Regions from separate parts of the Homo sapiens genome. Here region 1 is linked to region 2. The links are contacts of gene promoters, found by promoter capture Hi-C in blood cells and fetal thymus (Javierre and others, 2016). All regions are on one chromosome and are shown on one strand. Each heading gives the region's core, a stretch centred on a gene start or on the middle of the fragment in contact. The rest is flanking DNA. Distances are from core to core; before and after follow the strand shown.

Region 1 (5,538 bases), core at 1,156-3,655, 180 kb after region 2:
TTGCACCTTCATTAGTCATGAAACATTGATGTGATATAAAGAGTTTCAAACCAGAAAGACATATGACCTAAATTTAAATTTGGGAATTATACAATGGCTGGTGGTATTTTTCAGACTCTTTTCATTAAAAGGGAAGGAGCATAATACTTAATTTGTAAATTGATGACAGAAATTTCAAGAATTTGTTAAAGAACCTGGCATATGATAGACACTCAATCAAAATAATCCTAGGAATAACTATAGTGCACAGTTGAGTGTCTTTACAGATGATCAATAAAAGTTAACAATTCTTAACATCAAAGCATGAATGAATTGTGTTCTTAATTCATTCATTCATTCATTTGAATGCCAACTACATTCAACATCAAGCTTATTCCAATCCCTGGGCTACAATAGTCCCTATACCTGAAATGTTCCTTAAATATTCAAAAGTCTGACTGTATCTTCCTTGACAATCCTTAAAGGGTAGCATCCTTTTATTCTCTGTTCCCTTGTGCTGTCATTGTCTGTCTGACAGTTTATCATTTATAACATTTGCTTATCTCTGTTGTATGATTTCACTATACAGATGTAAGCTTTACAAGGTCTGAAGCTTATTTATATTGTTTACGGCTATACAATCAGTACTTTGAATTGTGTCAAGCATATTACATATATTTTTTACAGGAAATCTGAGGTCTTTATCATTATCGTCTTTCAATACATAATATGTCTTTCATTCTTCGGGATACTTTTAAGATTTTCTCTTTATTGATGATTTTGAAAATGTTTTATTATGCTGTATCTTGATGTCATTTTATTCATGTTCCTTATGCTTTGATTTCATTGAGCTTTTTGGTTCTGTGGAGCTATAGTTGTTTCAAACAAATTTGGAATAATTTTGGCCATTATTTGCTCAAATATTTTCTCTGTCTATCTCTCTTTTTCAGGGAACACAATTGCACATATATTACATTTCTTGAAGTTGCCCCACAGCTCTCCAACGCTCTGTTTATTATCCTTAGTTTTCTGTTCTCTTTGTGTGGCATTTTGGATAGATACAATTGCTATGCCTTCAAGTTTACTAATCTTTTCTTCTGCAATGTCCCATCTGCCATTAATCTCATTGTTTGAATTTTTCAGCTCACAAATTACAGTTTTGACAGAAATATACTTTGGGTCCCTTTTTGTCTTCCATGGCCTACTTAACTTTTCATACATATGAAATAGAGTTATCAGAACTATTTTAATATAGTTGTCTTTTAATTTAACATCTGTGTCCATTAAGCCTTACTTTTGACTGATTTTTCTACTCCTTAGGGATCATATTATCTTGCCTCTTTGAAAACCAGATAATTTTTTGGTTAGCATTGCCAGACATTGGCATTTTTACTTTGTTTGTTGAAGGATATTTTTGTATTAAGTATCTTTAATTAGTACTTTATATTTCATATAATAAACCTCAAGCATATATGTGTCTGTAAGGGCATGTGTATGTGTATGTCTTTGTCTATATATTCTCGGGCTGTATTCTACTTAGGATATTGTAATATATATGTATATGCCATATATAGATATACACATATTATAATATCACATGTATATACACAGATATACACATATTACAATATCTTAACTAGAATACAGCTCAAAAATATACTGACACTATATATATACACACATATATACAATATGTAAAGTAATAGTGTACAAAAATATTTGTCATCATGTGATAAAGAAAATGATCCTTGAGTATATATATAGCGTGTGTACATATATATATAATCCTCTAATATGTATAGTATATTATTCCTATAGTGTATACATTATATACTCTGTATATACTCCACAGATCCTATAGTATATAATATATATAATATCCTATTCATATTTTTCAGCTTTATTCTAGGATAAAATTGAGAGATTTGGACGTAGTTTGATCTTATCTGGCCTTGCTCTTAGGATTTGTAAGGGAGAACAAGAGTAGAGCTCAGTCTCAGGATAATCTTTCCCCACTACTGAAAAAAGATTCTTCTGTGTACTCCACATGATGCTCTGTGAATCATGAGGTTTTCCATCATAGCAGGTGGAAATAGACCACAGTTCAGCCTTATTTGAGTGCCAGATACTCTTCTCTATAAGCCTTTCGAGTGTTTACTTTCCTAGCCTCAGAGAGTTTCCCCATACAGGTAATACTGATCATTACACAGCAGAATACTCAAGGGGGCCCTCTACAGATCTCTGGAGTTCTCCTTCTATGGAGTTCTCTCCTTTCTGGTGCTCTGTCCAAATTCTGGCAGTCTTAGTCTCTCTGGACTCCCATGTCCATATTCTTCACTCACAGAGCTCACCAAGCTCTGTCTCGACTTTCCCTTCTCTGCAGCACAGTATAGGAGCTTACTCAATGCAGTAAAACTAGCATTCAACGAATTGACTTTAGTTGTTTCCCATGTCTTAAGGATCATTGCCTTCATCATGTGATGCCTAATATTTTGTACACTATTACTTTATGTATTTTGTCTGTTCTCAGTTGTTTCAGGGAAGAGTACAGCTGTTCTTCATTACTCTAAATTGACCATAAACGGAAGTCCTATCAATAGGGATTGAAGGCAGGGTGTAAATACATCAACCAAGGTCCACTGTTTTCCAGTTCTGATCATGATTCTTCTGTCTACAAGGCAAGTTTAACAAGGAGATTCTTTATTCTATATTCAGGAATACATTCACGTGTTTCCTGGGTTTTGTTCAGATGGAGTCTGGTATGGTTTCCCACACCTTGCACTGTTCTGTGTTCAGACACTACCAGTCTGCTCTGATTGGCTTCCTTTGTCTTACTCCTTTTAAGTTTATTAAATTCTAGCCACTAACCAGGACAAATAAAAGGCTTTGTACACCAGTTCCTCATAGGAGAATACACTCCCCATCCAAATCCATTGAAATAAACAAGTTTCTTGTTTTCTCCCTGAACTGGTAAGATTTTTATTGGAAATTAAATATTTCAGACTTTATTCAATTTTTAAAATTTCCTACTTTCTCACTTGCTCATTTGAGCATCCTAACCCTTTGGGGTGTGTTAAAGTACAAGTCACTAGTATTTAAAACCTTATTCTGTGCATTTCAAAACACACCCCACTCCCATTAAATACAGAGTTTATGGTACTAAATGTACCCTTTTCTTTTCAGGTACCTGAGAATTTCATTTTCTTTATTGCAAGGTTAATTAAATGTTGGCCTCAACCTCTAAATTCACTTTTGTCCAGCATATCTAGGTTATCATGGTTGAAAGGAGTTTGGAATTAATAGCCCATGAAAGTTTTATTTATATGTCTGTGTATAAATATTTTGCTTAATTTTTACTGAATGTAAAGTGTCCACACATATCAGTCATGTGTCTCCACAGCAACAAAATTCTCAAATATTTCAAAATAAATAATAACACAAAGTCTACTGACTAAGAAGTTTACAAACATGGATGTATAACTGGTTTGTGTGTGTGGGTGCAAGTGTATGATCTATGAAACTATGCTTTATTTTGAAATGTTAATTAATAATTCATGAGGAAAAATAAAATTCAGTGAGAAATTATATATGTAAGTTAACAAAGAAAGGATGGAACTAATTTTATCGATTTGGCAAATGTTTAATTTTTTAATATCAAATTAATTAAAAACCAAAGAACATAATTAACTGTTGAAACTAAATTAAGTGATATGCATTATTTCTAAATAGAAGCTGAAGAAATATGAACTGAAGCCAAGAAGCAAAATAGATTCCAACCTCAGACAAATACAATCCAGTGGATTGTAAAAGAAATGTGATTTTAACTAGATATTAACAAAATAGGACTAGAGACAAAAAAAAACTCTGGTGGTAATAGACCAGAAAAAGAAACCCAAGCCTAAAAAACATTCAACGAATTTTACCTGGTGATAAAAAGATGACGTGAGGCAATTTTTAAGTGAGCAATAAACCACTCAATACCTTACAGTTGAATAATTCAGTTTTAATAAAAAAGGAATCCAATAAATCAAGTTCTTATAAAAGATACAAACATACAAATATAAAACATTAATTTCAGGTTTGAAAAAAATTCAAATTAACATGCTCATTTCTCCTACATGTAGTATGTACACAGAGATATATTTTGTTTTAAATATTTAAATGTAATAGTGAACTATGTAGGATTCTAAGCTATTGCTTTTTCACCAAGTATTTCTTATAGTGACTAATTTTTTCCACCAAGCTTTTCGAGATCATAAATAGGACCACCTGTGAGTTTCAAGCTCTTACATGGTTCCCCTAAACATGGATACAAAGTCATTTTACAGAAGATTTAATAGCTCACATGGCATTTGGTTTAGTCTTTTCTTTAGAATTTGACATAAAACTAGTAGTACTAACGTTTCTAAAAAAAGCAAGCAGAAATATGAATTTATTAAAATAAATAAGACCCAAAAATAACTATATATAAAAGTAAAGGAAAATATTATTTTCTTGAATAACAGCAGAAAGTAAAATTAAGATGTGTATATTGAACGTAAAAATGCTTTCTCTTTTGAGTTAATCCTCATAGCTACTCTGCAAGCCCTCTTTAATATTTACCGATGTCTTTACAGCTCATGTTTGACATAGAAACCCCACTTCCAGGAAAGTACAATAAGAAAATAATCAGTGGTGGCTGCAAGATCTGTGAAAGATAATATCCAGTTTAATACACAGTGTTTATAACAACAATTTTGAAAATAACCAGGATATTAGACATTTTAAATAATTAAAAATTGATTTAGAGTCATGAAGGCAACCCAGGTCCAAAAGAAAGCACACAGGTGAAAATAGCCCATTGGAGGTCCCGCTTGGGCCAGGAGGGCATCTTGCAGTGAGTGACCTGGAGCAGCTAAGCTCCACAGAGTGCCTAGACCTGGGCAGGCAGGGTCCCTGCCTTGGGCACACATTGCAGGGTCCCTGCCTTGGGCACACATTTCAGGGGCCCTGCACATTGGAATGGCTTTTTTTGCATGGAAAGACAGGATCTGTAGCCCTAGGCCAGCAACTGTGTAAGCCTGTTCCTGTTTCTGCCCTTGGAGACATTCTAACCTTTTATGCCTTCCCAGTCCCACAAGAGATTGAGTAAACGCCCCGAGGACCACGAAGACTCCTGCCTATGGGATGGTTTCTGGCCCCATAACTTCTCCATGGTTTCAGAAAGATGACTGGCAAGGATCACTCCCACTGGCAGGGGCTGTATTTCTTTTAACAGAGAGCAGAAGATTGGTGTGCAGGAAAGATGCTGAGATACTGAGTTCTTTCTTCTCAACAGAGGAGAGTTCAGGACTTTGGGCAACGGGCACAGTTCACGGGCTATAGCCAAATGTGTGACCAGTATGCCTACTCTTGCCCTTTTGGTATCCCGTTGCTGTGCTGCCTGTGGTCTGCAGGTCCTGAAGGCTGAGAAGATGGCAGTAGTCATCCTGTTCCTGGGGAGTTTACTACCACTGGTACTCTTCACAGGTTCCCCATCATATGTCAGGCAACCCTCAAGGCATGTCTCAGCTTATCCTT
Region 2 (6,050 bases), core at 719-3,218:
TACAGGATTGCAAAGGAACTAAACAGAAAGGAAGGGAAAGGGAGGGACTTTCTTAATTACATTACAATCATCATGACCTTCATTATTATTGATGAATTATCCTCTGTTGGTATGAGGAGAGAAAGAATAAGAAGAAAGTAATATGAGAGAATGAAAGATTTATTGGAAATTGATGAAATTAATCAGGTTTGAAAAAAGCACTGTTGTTTTGTTTTGTTTTTTTCTTTCACGAGAATATCTTCTCCCTTGGAAGAAGCTCTGGGAAGTCTCTGAAGTGCTCCAGAGTTCCATCTTCTCTCTGTGGAGGGAGAAAAGTGGTATTGGAATGGGCCAGCTCAGATACAAGAGCCTGCATCAGGGCTCTTAGGAGGCCTAGAAATACAAAGGGATAGGCTACAGAGAATGGTCTGTAGACTAGCCCCATGCAAGTAGACCATATTACACAAAAGAAAAGGCAAAGGAGATGACTTCCAACGAGAATCCATATATAATTTCATGCAAATATAATTATTTAGTGCATATTTAATTTTATATACACACTCAATTTATTCTTTGACAATTCCATCATCATTGTATATTCTGAAAAGTACTTAATAGGGAGATGGGGTAAGAGCAGGGTGGTAGGTACAAAAAGAGCTTATACCTTCTCTTCTAATAAATACATGGGCTTCTTAGGCTCAAGAGGGAGTGATATTGTACATTGCTCCCCAGGACCATTAAAAGATTCAGGATAAAACATCTAGGCTCTTTAAATGAACTACAGTAATGATCTACCACCTACATAGAATTAGAGATGAGCTGTGGTCAGCAGGGAGTACTGAGAGAACAGGTACAAGGGACACAAAAACGTAGACAGAAGAGACATAAGCTAGAGCCATGCATAAAGGAATGGAGTCTGAGGCTAAAATGATAGGAACCCTATTATCAACTGACAAGACAAGTGAAGAAAATCATAACTGAATTCAAGATACAGGGCCTATTTGGACATTAGGTTGAATCATTCCACCTTACCTTAGTGCAAACCCATCTTTGAGGCAAGTTGAGGGTCTTCTTCACAGAGATGCTTGATAAATTTGCAGCAAGACTTGGGTCCTTTTCCAGTAACAAGGTCAATCAAGACTCGAGCCTTATCCATGACAGTGTCATTTTCATCTCTCACTTTGTTCATGTCTTCCTGGCTAATAACTTCATCCTCTAATAGGCAATCCAGCAAGGCATTTATTGTGCCTGCACCCACTGAATGGATAAAAATTCTTCTCTTTTTACGCAAGAGTTGGTCTGTTGGAAGCACAAAGATTCCTCAAATAATGAACATGACACAATTTCCCTCTCAATTTACCAACAGGGTAACAATCATTTAAACATTTCTCTCCACAAGTACAGTAATCCCAAGGAACGGTCTTATACCTTTGCATTTACTCCACGTACTTCCTTCTGATTCTAGCATTACCTACATATGCTCACTGAGTGACCTGGGAAACTTGACTTCATGATTTTTCTGTGAATCTCCTAAAAATCAGAAGTCATTCTATTCTGACACATCCCAGTTTCTTGAATTTTGAAGGGAATTGACAGTTTCATGAATTTTGAAGGGAATTGACTGTTTCCTTTGAGAACAACAGCTACTGATACCCATCCTGTGCCCATTCTCATCCTGAACTACATAACTCTTCAAATGTGGACAACACTAGCAAAATTATAGCAGATACCAGTAGGATCCCAGATTCTTCCTGGCCTTTATCTGTTCCTTCAAAAACGCTGTGCAAGTCTGGGCATCTTCCCACCCTGCCTCTCCCTTCTTCTTTCTCTCTCCACCCCAAGGCTGCCCACACAAACCTTCACAAAGCCTAATGAGAAAGGCAGTCCTTTCCCAAACTAATTCCTCCCTAAGACCTATCCTCTTACTGGGGAAGACTCACCAGCCATGGCTCCTCACGTTGGCACTTGCAATGTGTGTTACACTTGCAATGACAGGCAAGGTAGCTCTATCCTTTTAGGCAGGGCGTGTACACAGATCAATGAACAATACTTACACCTACACATGTGTATTTATAATTATTGCCCAAGAAGCTGTTAACTATTGTCATTTCCCAAGGTATTTTTACACAATTGAATCTCAGATTGTAGCATGAACTGTGCCCATAAGAAAATTGCTTTACCATTCCTTGGTGGGTGAGAAACAAGAATAGGAGAGAATTGAGAAGGCACACACAGAGCTAAACACATGCAGTAAACAATCTTTAATTCACTGAGATTTAAATGGAAAGTAAAATCACAGTATAGGGTAGTTGTGCCACCTAAATCAAGTACTAAGAGTTCCTTTTTTAAATTGTGGTAAAATACACATAATATAAAATTTACCATCTTAGCCATTTTACAGTATCCAGTTCAGTGGCATTAAGTACATTCACATTGCTGTGTAGCCATCAATATCATCCAACTGTAGTTGTTTTCATTTTGGGAAATTGAAACTCTATACTCCTTAAACAGTAACTCTCTATCCTTTCCTTCCATCAGTCCCTGGCAACTAACATTGTACTTTCTGTCTTTATGAATTTGACTTCTCTAGGTATCTCATGTAAGTAGAATTATACAGTATTCATTTTTTGATGCCTGACTTATTTCACTTAGTGTAATGTCCTCGGTGTTTATTCATGTTGTGGCATGGGTCACAATTTCCTTTCTTTCTGAAGTTGAATAATACTCCATTCTATGTATGTACCACATTTTAGTTTACCCATTCTTCATTGAGCACAAATTTCTTCCCTTTTGCTATTGTAAATAACACTGCTATGAACATGGTATACAAATATGTTTTTGAGATTCTGCTGTCAATTATTTGAATATATACCCAGAAGTGGAACTGACAAATCATAGAGTAATTCTATTTCATTTTGTTTTGTGAAATCGGTATGCTGTTTTCCATAGCAGCTGCACTGTATTACATTCCCACATATAAAGCAGAAGCGTTCCAGTTTTTCCATGTCCTCACCAATACATATTATTTTTCTGTTCTTTTGATAATAGCCATCCTAATGGGTGTGAGATGGACTAAGACTTCTTACCTTCCTTTCATTGTTTTTTACCTAAGCTCTAGGCAGTCTCCAGACGCAGAAATGGTGTATGAAGCAGTTTTGCTATTTGGAATAAAAGTGCTTTGTTACGTAAGGCTCTTTTTCTTCAGATGGCACCATTTTAAGTAACACTGTATTACAAAGATTAAGGGCACAGACTCTGAAGCCAGAATGGTTGGATCCATATTTTAACTGCTGATCTTAGGAAAGGAAATTAACCAAGCTTTAGTCTTCCCATCTGCCAGATAGGTTTGATGATAATTCCTACCTTGCAGTTTTATTGCAAGTATTTAATGAACAAATATAAGTCATTAAAATAGCCCCTGGCATAAAGGAAGCACCTCAATTATTATATATGTCCATGTAAAATCCCCTATTCATCTCATCAATTCATTCAACATAAATATTCAGCATAGTTATTTACTGAGACCCAAGTCTATGTGCCATACATTATTATAGATGCTGGGGATGTAGTAATGACCAAAAACAGACAAAAATTCCTACCCTATTAGAAGTTGTATGATAGTAGGAGAGACACATATACTCATTAAATGTATACAAAATATTTTAAGAGTTCTTTAAAGAAAAATATTCTCAGAAGATTGGGGGAATCACATCTTTGGTAAAATATTTGTATTAGCTTATATATGTGACATAATTTGATAAATATTTAAAATCTGGGCAAGGTGCTACAGCTTATGTGCCCATGGGCCCAGGAATACACCAAATGAGGTGAATTGGAGAGGGGAGGCTGTGCCTATCTGGTAAGGGTAGTCCTCTCTGAAGGGGCAGGGCTCCTCAGACCCAACTAATTTTGGCTAAGAGAATGAAAATTCAGTTTACTTTTTCATTTTAAGGGTACTTTATCTCTAATTTTAAAAATACTTTCAGTTGGTTTACTATTGTTTTAAAACACTGTGAAAATTAAACAAAGCTTGCCTGTGGTTCACATTTTACCTGAAGTCTGCCAATTTGCTTTCTGCTTTCTTGGCAAATAATTGCATTTATTTTCTTGGGAATAGACATTTCTATCTTGGTAGTATATAGTCAAACATTGTGGAGATTTTAATCTTTGACTTCTTTGACTTTTTTTTCTTTTTCTCCCTACTTTTCCAATCTAGCTTATAGCAGGCTCTGTGTCCTCTTGCTTTAGGGAATATTTATGGCAGGATAGAAATTAGAGATGGTCTGAATGAAACTGGGATCTGGAACAAGAAGAAGACAAATCACAGAAAGAATGGAACATCACTGTGGAAATCACAGAGAGAAGAATATTATCCTGGTTCTCCACCAGCCAGGAAAGCACACCATTCTATGGAAGTACAGGAGATGGTGCCTGACAATAGCTGGTGGCCAACTGATACCTCTAGAAAGCAAAACTGTAAGCACGAGGATTCCCAAACTCACATATGCTTCCCAGATCTCTCAAAGCTAAGCAGAGAACTCTTAGATATGCCACTCTATTGCTGACTTCAAAATGAAAGTGCCCATGATTATAATGTTTGAATGGAAAAGGCAGGATTTCCTTTTCCTGTTTTTCTGGAAAACACTCAAGTATGTGTAAGCCTGGTAAGACTACAAGAAGAGAATAGAGACCTCATAATAACTAAAAGTGGAATTATCTACTACCCTATTTGTAAAGGCACTTACTCCAGAATATAATTTGAATTGAGATATAATTATCATAAAATAAATAAATTACATGATAAGCAACAGGTAGTGTTTTAAAGGATGAGTGATGACTTGAAAATTTAGATCTAGGCTCGTTTCAGATTTCTGGAATTTTATTTGCACTAGCAATTCAGATTTGTCATTAGGAAAAGAGTATTTGTTACTTTTGTGGGAGTAGGGAGCAGTTATGACATGAAAGCATAAGTTATCTAGTTGCCACCTTTACTTATGTCATTTATAACTCTTTGAAGATACTCAATGTTCCATCTTTCATTCCTCTGTTCTTGGGTATAAACATTCTGGAACATATCTAGTGACTATACATTAGTGGGAGCACAAATCAAATGTAAGATTTTTTTTTTCAGAAGCCTTCCCCTCTTCCCAGATTTGGAGTCAAATCACCCATTCAAGTGTACTTTGTTAGTTGCATGAGATGATGAATGACTTAGTTAAAACTATCTAAGCCTCAGTTTCCCCATTCAGACACTTCCCGCATCTATATCATTACTATTCCTAGATTTATTATGACTATTTAAGATAATGTATATAAAATCATTGCCTGGCCATATCTAAAAGAGGCTGCTCTTAAATTAGCAATAGTCTTGAAGGAAGAAGGTACCCTGGTACCTTATATTTCTTTATAAAATGCTTACAGATTTCTCTATAGTAGACAAGATGAAATATATGTCCATTTTATGAAAAATACTAATTACCAGAGGTTCAGAGATGCACCTGGCACAAGGGGCCTCTCACTCAATCCTAGGCTCTGTGTGATATGCTACATGTTCCTCATCCTAGCACTGTGGTTGATTACATGAAGAAAATCAGCTGGTAAAATAGGACTCAGTGCCTGCCCTTGAGGAATTTAAAATAATTTGGCACTGATAAGGCATAAACACAGGAAAATATTGTATGACAATACAGGAGAAAATGGACTAAGATGCTATGAGGTATCAGAGATGGGAGAATTAAATATAATCTGAAGCAATCAGGAAGATTTTACATAGGTAACATAAAATCTTCCCAGAATCTGCAGGATAAAAACGTTTAAATAAGCACTGAAAGAGGTTGCTAATTTGCTGATAGCTTGCCCTCTTCTAGGTAATATAGTAGGCTGTTTAACCAGCCAGACAACACTAGAAAAACAGCATTTGCATCCTAGCTTTGCAGATGAGGAAATTGACACTTCCAGAAAATGAACCTCTTACTCAAGATAATGAAGTCAAGGGGTGTGAAAAATGTGATTTGATTACTTAAGTTGAAAGACCACAACGGTGTATCTGTACAAAGTAGAGCTGAGAGACC

Evidence for each region. Contacts are between HindIII fragments. The CHiCAGO score rates a contact against its expected background, and 5 or more counts as called.
Region 1: a contact is called between a fragment that was not itself captured here and the fragment with the promoter of CARD18 in region 2, in 1 of 17 cell types (neutrophils). The highest score is 5.8, in neutrophils.

The regions. Positions count from the first base shown.
Region 1 is chr11:105,313,294-105,318,831 of GRCh38, forward strand. The region is part of intron 2 of LOC105369468 (a long non-coding RNA gene); the gene reads right to left. Among named protein-coding and RNA genes, the nearest start is that of CARD18, 180 kb to the left of the region's middle. The HindIII fragment of the contact is 3,630 bases long and covers 591-4,220 here.
Region 2 is chr11:105,137,801-105,143,850 of GRCh38, forward strand. It overlaps CARD18 (caspase recruitment domain family member 18), which reads right to left and starts at 1,969. Exons shown (of 3, transcript NM_021571.4): 1 at 1,920-1,969; 2 at 1,012-1,278; 3 at 1-298. The coding sequence starts at 1,926. The coding sequence ends at 1,013. The HindIII fragment of the contact is 11,660 bases long and covers 1-3,295 here.